Regions from separate parts of the Homo sapiens genome. Here region 2 is linked to region 1. Evidence: promoter capture Hi-C in 16 types of primary human blood cells and fetal thymus (Javierre and others, 2016). All regions are on one chromosome and are shown on one strand. Each heading gives the region's core, a stretch centred on a gene start or on the middle of the fragment in contact. The rest is flanking DNA. Distances are from core to core; before and after follow the strand shown.

The links. Contacts are between HindIII fragments. The CHiCAGO score rates a contact against its expected background, and 5 or more counts as called.
Region 2: a fragment that was not itself captured here is called in contact with the fragment with the promoter of TMEM255B in region 1 in 1 of 17 cell types (M1 macrophages); the score reaches 5.1 in M1 macrophages.

The regions. Positions count from the first base shown.
Region 1 is chr13:113,755,571-113,761,677 of GRCh38, reverse strand. It overlaps TMEM255B (transmembrane protein 255B), which reads right to left and starts at 2,452. Exons shown (of 9, transcript NM_182614.4): 1 at 2,363-2,452. The coding sequence starts at 2,408. RefSeq lists enhancers at 1,733-2,234, 2,791-3,292. The HindIII fragment of the contact is 10,322 bases long and covers 1-4,672 here.
Region 2 is chr13:114,204,363-114,210,469 of GRCh38, reverse strand. The region is part of intron 3 of CFAP97D2 (CFAP97 domain containing 2); the gene reads right to left. Among named protein-coding and RNA genes, the nearest start is that of CDC16, 27 kb to the left of the region's middle. The HindIII fragment of the contact is 302 bases long and covers 2,840-3,141 here.

The DNA of each region.
Region 1 (6,107 bases), core at 1,203-3,702:
TGCATATGCTAATCATCAGGGTGGTGTGAACTTTAAGACGGCGTAGCGGCTATTCTTAACCAGCATTTCTCCCACTGGAGTTGCAAGGAGGAGTTCTGAGATGTGAAGCTGAAGGGGCCAACAGCTACCTCTCTGCTATCAAGTGCGCTGATTTTTCTAATTCTAGTCTTCCCCAGGTGCAGCCCATCTAGGATATCTCAGAATATCACCTTGTCACTCCCCACCAGCCCCCACTTCTCCCATCCCACCTGCTCTCCCCTTCCTGGCTCCTTCCCCAGCCTTAGCTGGAGGAGCTGAACCACATGAGCCTGTGCCCACGCCAGGTCCTACCTGGAAGACACGCGAGGCTGGAGGTCAGGTTCTTCCTGCCCCTCAGACCCATTTCCTCTACTCCACAGAGCCAGGAAGGGGAATGTCACAAAGCATGGGAGGTGGCACTGCTTGGAAGGGTTCTAAGATCCGGCCTTCCTGCCAGCCGGACCTGGAACGCCCAAAAAGAAGAGTGAGTTCCATTTAATCATGTGGGGACACCAGTCATGGTGTCCAAGTAACAATCCCAGGTAAAACTGTAATCACTCAGCCGTCAATTCCTCTTTCGTCCTGATTTTACACATGCCCAGGGTAGTGAACAAAGAAGGGCAAAGCAGAAAAACCCATAATCCTACCCCCAGGTACCCCAAAGCAGAAAGACTATGGTCCACCCCCAGATACCCCAAAGCAGAAAAACCCACAATCTACCTCCAGACACACCAAAGCAGAAAGACCATAACCCACCCCCAGACACACCAAAGCAGAAAGACCATAATCCACCCCCAGGCACACCAAAGCAGAAAGACCATAATCCACCCCCAGATACCCCAAAGCAGAAAGACCATAACCCACCCCCGATACCCCAAAGCAGAAAGACCATAATCCACCCCCAGACACACCAAAGCAGAAAGACCATAATCCACCCCCAGATACCCCAAAGCAGAAAGACCATAATCCACCCCCAGATACCCCAAAGCAGAAAGACCATAACCCACCCCCAGATACCCCAAAGCAGAAAGACCATAATCCACCCCGACACACCAAAGCAGAAAGACCATAATCCAACCCCAGACACACCAATGCTTTATACATTTTAGTAAAAGACCAGCTCCAAACAAAAAGACCCATAATCCTACCCAGATACACCAATGTTTCATATACTAAAAAGACCAGCTCCAAGTATTGTTTTAAGGTTTAAAGTTCTTTGTCAGAAGAAAATCTAAGTCAGATGCTATTTTTAAACATTAAGGCATTCTAATAATGATAAAACTAGTTAATAAATAATAATAATAGTTATCATTATTAAACACCAATAGACTAATCCACATTAATACATTTGACCATAGAGCATTTTGCTTTAGATTGGAAGGCATATAGTGGTTTCTTTTAGAAAGAAGCCAAATTATTTGATTATTTTAAGTAACAGTAATTCGTCCGGTTCCGAACGATGCCGCAGTAAAAGGGTTGTGAGGTTAATCCCCAGAAGTTTGTGTTGGATTATTTCTGAGGGAGCGGCAGAGCCCCCTAGACACCACTCCATCCCTCCCTCCAGCCGTCAGGGCTTCACTTTCTAGGGAACTCTGTTTCTCTTTTGTTCTGAAATCTGCCCAGCCCTCTCCCCCTCAGGAAGACACCCGGCATCCTTCCAGTCCTGGCCACTTCCCGGCAGAGCCCCCGAGCCCGGCTTGCGAACTGGTGAACACGCAACAGGTTTCCTGTTTTCCCAGCCTTTGCCTGGCTCCGAGGCTGCAGCGGGCTTGGTCTGGGAAGTGGAAGAATTGGAGATTCCGTGAACACACCGGGGAGAAACACGAGAGAGGGGCGAGCCGAAACCAAGCAACACTGTCCAGTTCTGTGAGCGCCTCTGCACGTTCAAACAGGAAAAGGCTACCTCGCTCTTCCAAACGAAGTTTTCCCGGAAAATGGTGTAGGTTGGAATAAACGGAAGAGATGGGGAAGGAGCGCACTTTGGGGCGCCTGTTCCTCATAATAAAACGTAACAGGGAGAGAGAGGCCAAGAGGAACGGACACAGAGTCAGAGAAAGGCAAAGACTGAGGAGGCAGAGACAGAAAGAGCGAGAGAGACAGAGACAGAGACAGAGAGAGAGACAGGGAGAGAGAATGAATGAACGAACCGGTAGGACGAACGCCCGACCCCAGTGCGAAATGCAAAGTGTTCCAAAGACAGAGCTCGAAGGAGGCGGAGGGACCAGACCCCGTGCCGCGTCTCCGCGCAGGTTCCGCCCGGGCCGGCCGGGGACCTGTAGTCCCAGCCCCGGGGTCCCCACGCTCCCCCGCAGGAGCCGAGACGAGCCCCCAGCCCCGCGCTCACCTGCGGGGTCCAGCAGGCCCAGGGGCCCGGGCACCGGCGGCTGCATCCCGAGGCCCCACCCGGCTCTCCCGGGGCCACAGCCACAGTCCCGCCGCCAGGAGCCGCCCTCGCGGCGCCGCCCCTTCCCCGCCCCCTGCACCTCCCCGCGCTCCGCCCGCCTCGCGTCCTTCCTCGCTCTACTCTCCCTTCTCCGGCGTTTCTTCTCCTCCCTCCCCCGCTGCGCCCGCTCCCCCTTCTCCCCTCCAGCGGCCGCCTGGTTTCTGGAAATCAGGACGCCGCGGCCGGGAGTGGAAGCCAGACCCCAGATGGAAGGTGCCTGGAGAGGACCCTGCGGACTCGGGGTCGGAGCCCCGGCCTGGGACGGTGACCCCGGGCCTTCCGCCGCTGGCGCCACGCTCAGCCCTTGGCGGTGCCGCTGAGTGGGTCACCACGGGTTCGCCTCCCCATTGGCCGGTGACGGAGCTCCTTGGGGCTACAGGGCCAGCCAGCCCTTGATCTCTGGGTTCAGAGGGTGGTACATGGTGTTACAACCCAGTCTGCGAGGAACGAGTAAATGAGGAACAAACGCAAATGAGTAAATGAGGAACAAACGCATCTGGCACCTCACTCAGCAGCCCCGAGGCAGGGCTGACCCGCCTCTCCAAGGCCTGCGTCTTTGTGTCCACAGCACTGAAGTTGTTCTGAGTAAAATCTGCTGCTGGAAAGAAGGGCAAGGAAACACGGGGCCAGAAAGGGTGCCTCGTACAGCAGCAGGAAAAAATAAAGATCCTTCTAAACGTATTTTTAACATCTTTGAGTCAAGGACATCAGCGGTCCCGTCACAAAAGAAGATGCTTGAACGATCAATAAACTCAGCCCCCGGAATTAGGGGAACGCTGTGGGAACAAGAGGATGCGTTTCACCCTCATCCTATCAGAAAACCCCAAGGGTCAAACAACTTAAAGAATGTTAATGAAAACGTGGGAATCTGCATTCACCGCTGGGATCACGCATGGTGCCACCACTTTGAAAGCAACCTTTAGGAAAATTGAAGCAAGTAGATGACAAGCCAGAAAGAAAGCATATCTCTTTCTAGATATGCCCAAGAACACAAACATAGATCTGCTCCTTCGAGCCAGGAGCCGTGGTTCTCAACCCCGGCTGTCGTTAAAGTCATCCAGGAATGTCTTTAAAAGAAAAAACATTTCTGCAGCACTGAACCCAGACCAGATCAATTGAACCAGAACTTCTGGGAACAAACTAATAGCTAAGAATTCCCTAGTCATTCTAATAGGCCATCCACTGTGAGAGAGAAACTACCACAAGAAGTATGCATGTGCTAGAAGATGCGTACAGAATATTCCTCACAACACTGTGTGTCCAAAGCACCGGACACACCCTGAATATCCAACACGGGGAGAAGCGATAAAGAAATGGGCATATACAGCGAAATACCACATGGCAGTTAAAATAAATGAGAGCTACATGGATCAATGTGGATAAATGCCAAAAACAGAACGCGGAGCAAAAATGCAAGTGCACAGTACGGCAGCGAGTACGACAGCAAGTACGGCAGCGAGTATGGTACCATTTATATAAAGTTTTAAACCATGAAAATTAACACTGTTCACTCAGTGAGCCTCTCAAGACTTACTAAACATCCGCGATATACCAGACACTGTTCCAGGTACTTGGGATGTATCAATGAGCAACGTAAACAAGGATCCTGGTGGGGAAGTGAGGCCATGAATAATAATACAATAAACAAGAAAAATGCACAGCATGTCAGAGGGCAACATGCTATGGAATACACACACACATATACACATACACACATGCAGACATACACACATGCATGCACATACACACATACACACACATGCATATATACACATGCATACATACACACATGCATGCATGTGTGCATACATACATGCACGCATACATACATGCACATACACACATGCATACATGTGTGCATACATACACGCACACATACATACACATACATACACACATGCATACATACACACTTATACGTGCATACATGCACATATGCACATATACATACACACATGCATGCATACACACATGCACACACATACACATGCACACATACATGCACACACATGCACATACACACACATACACACTTATACATACACACACATACACACATACATACATACACAGCCAGGTAATGCAGGCCACAGAAAAAGGAAAGAGAGGTAAAGAAACAAAATAGAAAGTATAGTGTGGGAGAGGGAGGGAGCTGTGGTTTTTAAGTAGTGAAAAGAGAGCTTGTTGACAGGTGATGTTGAAGACCAAGCTTGAGGGCGTGGAGGTGGTTGCTCACCCAGACATCTGGGGCAGAGGGTCTGAGGAAAAGGAACCTCCATGCAAAGGCCCTGGGGTGGAGCCATCCAGGCCCAGGGGGAGCAGCAAGGAGACCAGGGTGCCAGAGGCTTGTGGGGACCAGGTGGAGGACATCAGGGGTGAGCCGCAGGGCCTCTGGCCTTTGCTCCGAGTGATGTGGGGGTTATTGGAGGGTCCTACACATAGGATTACTGGAGAGTAGTTGTAGGATAGCAGAATGGAAGCTGAGAAACTGGTTATAGGATATGATGAAACAGTAGGAGGTGATTACACGGACACCATGAGTCATGTTTGCAGATACACGGACACCGTGAGTCCTGTGTGCAGATACACGGACACCGTGAGTCCTGTGTGCAGATACACGGACACGTTGAGTCATGTGTGCAGATACACGGACGTGAGTCTCGTGTGCAGATACATGGACACCGTCTCGTGTGTGCAGATACATGGACACCGTGACTCATGTGTGCAGATACACGGACGTGAGTCTCGTGTGCAGATACATGGACACCGCCTTGTGTGTGCAGATACATGGACACCATGAGTCATGTGTGTGCAGATACATGGACACCGTGAGTCATGTGTGTAGATGCATGGATACTGTGTAAGTAAAGTAGAAGAACATGCTGGGGGAGAGTGCATGCTTCATCCAGAACTGTGATTCTCTGTCTGGGTGGACAAGCTGAACAGCTTTGGAACTATGTCTAGGGGCTTAAACTCTATTTGTGAAATCTTCTTTCTTTAAAAAAGTTAAAAGACTTGTAAAAAAAGGGGGAATGTTGAGATACCATTAAGGCTAGATGGTGTGGACAGGGATGTTATATTATTCTCTATACTTTTCTGGATGTTTAAAATAGATGATTACTTTTTTGTAACTTTTTATTTTTATCTATTTTCAAACCTAAAGGTGGTTTGCAGGGATAGTGCAAGGAGCTCCTGTGCATCCTCTACCCAGGTGTGCCTTTGTTTGCAGTCTGTCACTTTTTTGTTTTTTGAGACATGCTGTGGCTCTGTGGCCCAGGCTGGAGTGCAGTGGCATGATCATAGCTTACTGCAGTCTCCACCTCCCAGGCTCAAGCGATCCTCTCACCTCAGCCTCCCAAGTAGCTAGGACCACAGGCGTGTGCTGCAACACCCAGCTAAGGTTTATACTTTTTGTAGAGATGGGGTTTCCTCATGTTGCCCAGGCTGATGTCAAACCCCTGGGCTCAAGTGATCCTCCCATCTGGGCCTCCCAAAGTGCTGGGATTACAGACGAGAGCTACTGTGCCCGGCCACAGTCTGTTATATTTTAAAAATTAAATGGACGAAAGGAAAAGAAAAGGAGGAAAAAGGGCGCCTGCTTGGCTCTGCAGGCCGAGTCCCACCCTAAGCCGCCAGGGTGCCCAAC
Region 2 (6,107 bases), core at 1,741-4,240, 450 kb before region 1:
TGCAGAAAGGTCAAGGGTTAGATCGGATCAAACTAAACTGACATTTTATGAGGGTCAAATACAGTGGGTCAAAATCAGCAAAGTCACTCAACATAAAAAGAGTAGGATGGAAGAGTCCACATGAAATTAATGCATAAAAGTGTCCCTTTCAGCATCACTGATAATAGTGAAAATTCTGAATTAATTTTTAATAATATGGAACTGATTAAGAAAGTGATGAACCCATTGAAGTGGTGTTCAAAAGTTTCAATGAGATGTAAAAAGTCTTAAGCCAGGATATAAGATCACATATAAGGTACAATTTTAATTATACTTAATACATATATGTGCACAAAAATATAACTCTATTATATATTTGGAAATGCAGAAAATATACAAAAATATACAAAATGCAGAAAATATACAAAAAGTATTCTCTCTGGGTGATGAAATGATAGTTAAATTTCTTCTTGGTATCCATAAATATGTATTATGTTATAATCAGGAACAATAAAAACATTATTTTTTAAACTTTAAAAGGAAACAATTCAATAAATTGAGCAACTGGGAAGTCACTGGTGACCTCATTTGATTGTTCAGTCATTCAACAAATATTTACTGAGTACCTACTATGTGCCGAGCATTGGCCTGGGCATTGAGTCTACAATGATAAACAAAAGAGACAAAGTCCCTGGAATCATAAGGCTTGAGATTCAGTGGGAAGACAGACAGTAGACAGGTCAACACACAAGTAAGTGACTGTGCTTTCTTTTACCGTGCTTAAATGATGACTTTGGCTGCTTGGATGACAACTGTGGTGCCCGTGGTAAAGGAAGACACAACGGTGGAGCCAGAACGAGCACAGAATGAGCGCCACACTGGTGGGCATCAGGACCTTCCTCTAGACCTTCCTTCCTCTAGACCATCAGGACCTTCCTCTCCATGTGACATTTAGGTGAAGGCTGAAAGCTGAGTAAGAGCTAGGCCTACACGAACACTCTAGATTTCTTTTCACATACCAGGAAGGGCCCCTGAGACACGGAGGAGAAAGGTGTTGTACTTGAGACATCGTTTTAACTGACACCTTTGTTATTATTCCAGGCAGACCTGTTCACTTTATTATCTGGTCTTCTATGAGACCACCTACTCGTGTTATTGTGCAAATTGATGTCATCCAATTAAGTCTTCTCTTTCTTTTACTGTGCTTAAATGATGACTTTGGCTACTTGAAGTTTCACTGGAGCAAATTAGCTGTGTTGGATGCGGACAGCGGGATGGTGCCCAGATGGCAGTGGCAAGCGAGCTCCTGTTTCACTGTGGTCCTCACGGCAGCAGAAAGGGAATGTTTCTCTATTATCCATTCTTTGTGGATTATCCTTGCTTGCTTTCTTCTCTTTTCTTTTCATGAGTAATCGGTAGCTGGCTTCATTTGTCTTCCTTCCTCCCTAAATTTTCATTTAGCCAAATTCTCCTCCAGGCTTTAAAAATCACCTTCTATATCCAAAAACCAAAGGGGTCCTATTTAATTCTCTGAGGGATGAGGCTGTCTTTGGTTGTGGACCTGCTTATTCATATTGGAGGCGGCAGGGAGAACTCGCATCTTGTGGTTTCTGGCAGCCCAAAGGAAGGGGTTCTTGTCCAGGCTTCTGTATAGAAAACTGGACACATAGCAAGGTTCCCAAAGTCGTCCCAGCCAGAGCCAAATCCTAGAGACATGGGCTGGGAGATTTGGCACATAGTCCAGAAAACCATGGATAGAATTCAGGCATCCATGAACCTGGATAGGAAAGCAATTGCGTCATATTTTCACCAGTTTTTAGCTGTAATTCAGCATTTTCTTCCATTATAATTGGAGGCAACAAACACGGTAACCTATGACTTTATCACCAAGAGAAACTTCAGATATTACAGTTGGTGCTTATTTTTGGAACATTATTCATACTTATCACTTAGGTGAATTTTGGTGGCTATAGGGCCTGCTGCAGGGTTCTGTTATTTAATATGGTAATAAATAAGCACATGAATTATTTTGTCATGGTTAAAGAATTATTTTGATAACGTGCTTCAATATAATTGGCTGCCTGTCAAATTGTGTGGATTTTATTCTATTCATTTAAGCACACTGCTTTCAGGAGTCTATGACGTCACCATTCTTCCAAAGCAGGTCGTGGCACGAAAAAGTTAAAGAAATCCGTATTTGAAATATGAAGAAGCTAATAGCAACAACGATATTGGCTGACTTTTATTGAGTGCTGAGCACTAAGCATTTGCATGTATTAACTCATTTCATTCTCATGACAAGCCTACAAGAAAGGCACAGGAGTTCCTATTTTATACATGGGGAAACCAAGGAGCAGAGAACCTGACAATTTGTCCAAGGTCACACAGCTAGAAGTCGTGAAGCCCAGGTCTAAAGCTGGGAGAGACGGCAGAGTGAGCTGAGGTCCCACCAAGAGCCTGGCTCACAGATCTTACCAGCTCCATGGAATGTTGAAACTGCCGAGTGACCCAAGGAGATGCATTGATTACAGATTCTTTACTTTCTGGATACAGCTTCTCCTTGCTTTCTGGCCAATGTCTTCTCTTAGAGGAAGAGCATGGGACATATTTTGGACCTGAGTTGTAGAGCCAAAATGGGATTAAAAGCCACCACATAGCCTCTCTAGGGAAAAAAATGGTGGTGGTGACAAAGTCTAGTTGGCTACATGAGAACATTTACAAGCAAAGAACAATGATCTAATCAGTTTTCCCTATAAGGCAGAGGTCCCCAACCCCCGGGCCATGGACCCATACCAGTCTGTGGCCTGTTAGGAACCAGGCCAAACAGCAGGAGGTGAGCAGCAGGCGAGGGAGCGAAGCTTCATCTGTATTCACAGCCACTCCCCATTGCTGGCATTACTGCCTGAGCTCCACCTCCTGTCAGATCAGCAGTGCCATTAGATTGTCATAGGAGTGTGAACCCTATTGTGAACTGCACGTTCGAGAGATCTAAGCTGCGTGTTCCTTATGAAAATCTAATGCCTGATGATCTGTCACTGTCTCCACACGATCCCTAGATGGGACCATCTAGTTGCAGGAAAACAAACTCAGGGCTCCCACTGATTCTACATGATGTTGAGTTGTATAATTACTTCATTCTATATTACAATGTAATATCAAGCTTCACAAGAACGGGACCCCTCCCCTCGCTGTCCATGCCGTATCCCAGTAGCGTCCTCAATGGTGGCAAATAAACCCCTAGATTGTTTGAGACCTGTCTAGATACTTTCTGGTTTGCGAGCCCTGAGGACTTTCTGTGTGCCCTGCATGGTGCTGCCCTTGCAGCGGCAGGGGAGCAGATGGGGCTCAGGCTGAGCTTGTGCCTTGCCCACACCAGGTGGATGCGGGGACACTGCTGCCATGCGGTGGTGATGCTTGGCAGCCTGTGCCAGGGCCACAGCTTCTTTCTTTTATCCCCTCAGGAATTGCACTGGGTCTGGGAGGGGTCCCTTTTTGTTGGCATTTCAATGCCTGTCCCTTTAAGGCAAGAACTCCTCCCTGATCCCATACAGGAGCATCCATACACATCCAGCTGACCAGAGAAGGCCAGAATCCAGTGACCCTGGTCCCTTGCCATTTGCAGTAGGTTTGGTGAATGGGCTGTGGGTCTTAGAAGCCCCCAAAAGCAGTGAGATTCTTCCTTGAGATACAGTTCACATACCATACAAGTCACTCATTTATCGTGTGCAGTTCAATGGGGAGACGCCCACAGTCCTCAACAGTCAGTTGAGAAGATTTTCATCACTTCCTTAGGGAGCCCTGGACCCTTTATCATCTTGCTACCCCTCCATACCCTTGCCTTAAGCAACCACTGATCTACTTTCTGTTTCTATAGATTTGTTTCATATACGTGGAATCGTCTAATATGTGGTCTTTTGTGACTGCCTTCTTTCACTTAGCATGTTTTCAAAGTTCATCCATGTTGTAGCCCGTGTCAATACTTTATTCCATTTCATAGCTGGGCAATATTCCATTATATGGTTAGGGTTAGGGTTCAAAGTCTCCGCTGTATGGTCCTAAGAAGAAACATTTATTTAAAAAAAGCTACTGGCCAGGAGCGGTGGCTCACGCCTGTAATCCCAGCACTTTGGGAGGCTGAGGTGGGCAGATCATCTGAGGTCAAGAGTTCAAGACCAGCCTGGCCAACATGGCGAAACCCTGTCTCTACTAAAGATACAAAAATTAGCCAGGTGTGGTGGCACGCGCCTGTAATCCCAGCTACTCGGGAGGCTGAGGCAGGAGAATCACTTGAACTGGGAGGTGGAGGTTGCAGTGAGCCGAGATTGTGCCACTGCACTCCAGCCTGGGCAACAAAGCAAGACTTTGTCTCAAAAAAAAAAAAAAAAAGGAAAAGAAAAAAAGCTACTGTAATTTGGCAAATGTCTCTGGCATTTGAGCTGAAACCTGCTCTTTCCCTGCTGTTCCCAGCTCGGCAATGCAGACTGCACTCCAGAGGCTGCAGCCAGGCACACAGGCTCTACTCCCCATAGCTTCTAGTCGAAGGGCCTCCTTCCTGGAAGAGGCAGGGCCTCAGCTTTTCTCCTCTTGTCCTCAACTGCCTGTTGCTGAGACTAAGTCCCAGGTGAGTGTGGCATTGTTCTGCCCAGCCCCTGTTTATGGAATGGAGGATCAGCCTAGAGCCTTGGAAATTGTGCTTCTAAGAATACAGGAGCCCGGATCCCCTTGGGCTGGTTCACAGGCATTGGTTCCAAGATGGGAGAGGCAAGCCCAGAAGACCTGTGTGTCCCCACAACATACACACAATGAAGCAAAGAGCCTGGGGTGTCACTCAGAGAGAAGATTGCCATTGTCTCCACTCCCAGCTCTTCCCAAAGGGACGAGCTGTTCTAAATGCTGTTTCACTTGCAACAGAATTTAGAGAAGTTCAACCCTCACTGAACATGAAAATAAAAGACATCCAAATTGGGAAAGAAGAAGCAAACTATTTCTATTCACAGATGATATGATCTTGCATATAGAAAATCTTAAGGAATGCACTAAAAAGCTGTAGAACTAATCCACAAGTTCAACAAGGTTGCAGAATATAAGATCAATACACAAAAATCAATTGTATATGTTTTCGTGTAGACATGTTTTCATTTCTCTTGGTTATATACTTGGGAGTGAAATTGGTTATATGGTAAATATATTTAATCCCCATATATTTATTAAAATATGTTTAATCACTTGAGGAACTTCTGGACTGTTTTCCCAAGTGGCTGCACCATTCCTCCCAGCCCTGGAGGGTTCCAATTTCCCCACATGGTCACCAACACTCCTTCTTATCTGTCATTTTGATTCCAGTCAATCTGATAGGCGTGAAGTGCTATCACGTTGTGGTTTCGATTTGCATTTCCTTGATGATGAATGATGCTAAGTATCTTTTCATGTGCTTATTAATCATCTGTATGTCTTCCTTGGAGAAATGTCTATTCAGATCTTCTGCCCATCTTTTAATGAGGTCATTGTCTTTATCACTGAACTGTGAGAGGTCTTCATGTATTCTAGATGCAAGTCCCTAATCGTATCTGATTTGCAAATATTTTCTCCCATTCTGTGGGTTTTTTTTACTTTCTTGATAGTGTCCTTTGATGCACAAAAGTTGTTAATTTTCATTAAGTCCAGTTTATGTATCTTCTTGTTTGTCATTCCTGCTTTTGGTGCCATATCTTAGACTCCATTGCCAAATCTGAAGTCACGATGATTTCCCACTGTTTTCTTCTAAGAGTTTTATGGTTTTAGTTCTTACATTTAGGCCTTTGATCCGTTTTTGATTAATTCTTCTATATGGTGTGAGGTGAGAGTCCAACTTCATTCTTTTGCATGTGGCGATAGAGTTGTCTCAGCATTTGTGGAAAGACTATTCTTTCCTCACTGAATGGTCTTGGCCCCTTTGTTGAAAATACATTGATTATAGACACATGGACTCCCATTGATTTATATGTCTATCTTAATGCCAGTGTAATACTATCTTGATTACTATAGCTTTCTTAGTAAGTTTGAAATAGGTGTGGAGTCCTAATTAGGAAAGAGGAGTCAAGCTGGTGGGACCAAGGGAAAGCAAAGAGATAAAGCAGGTAAGCGACAAG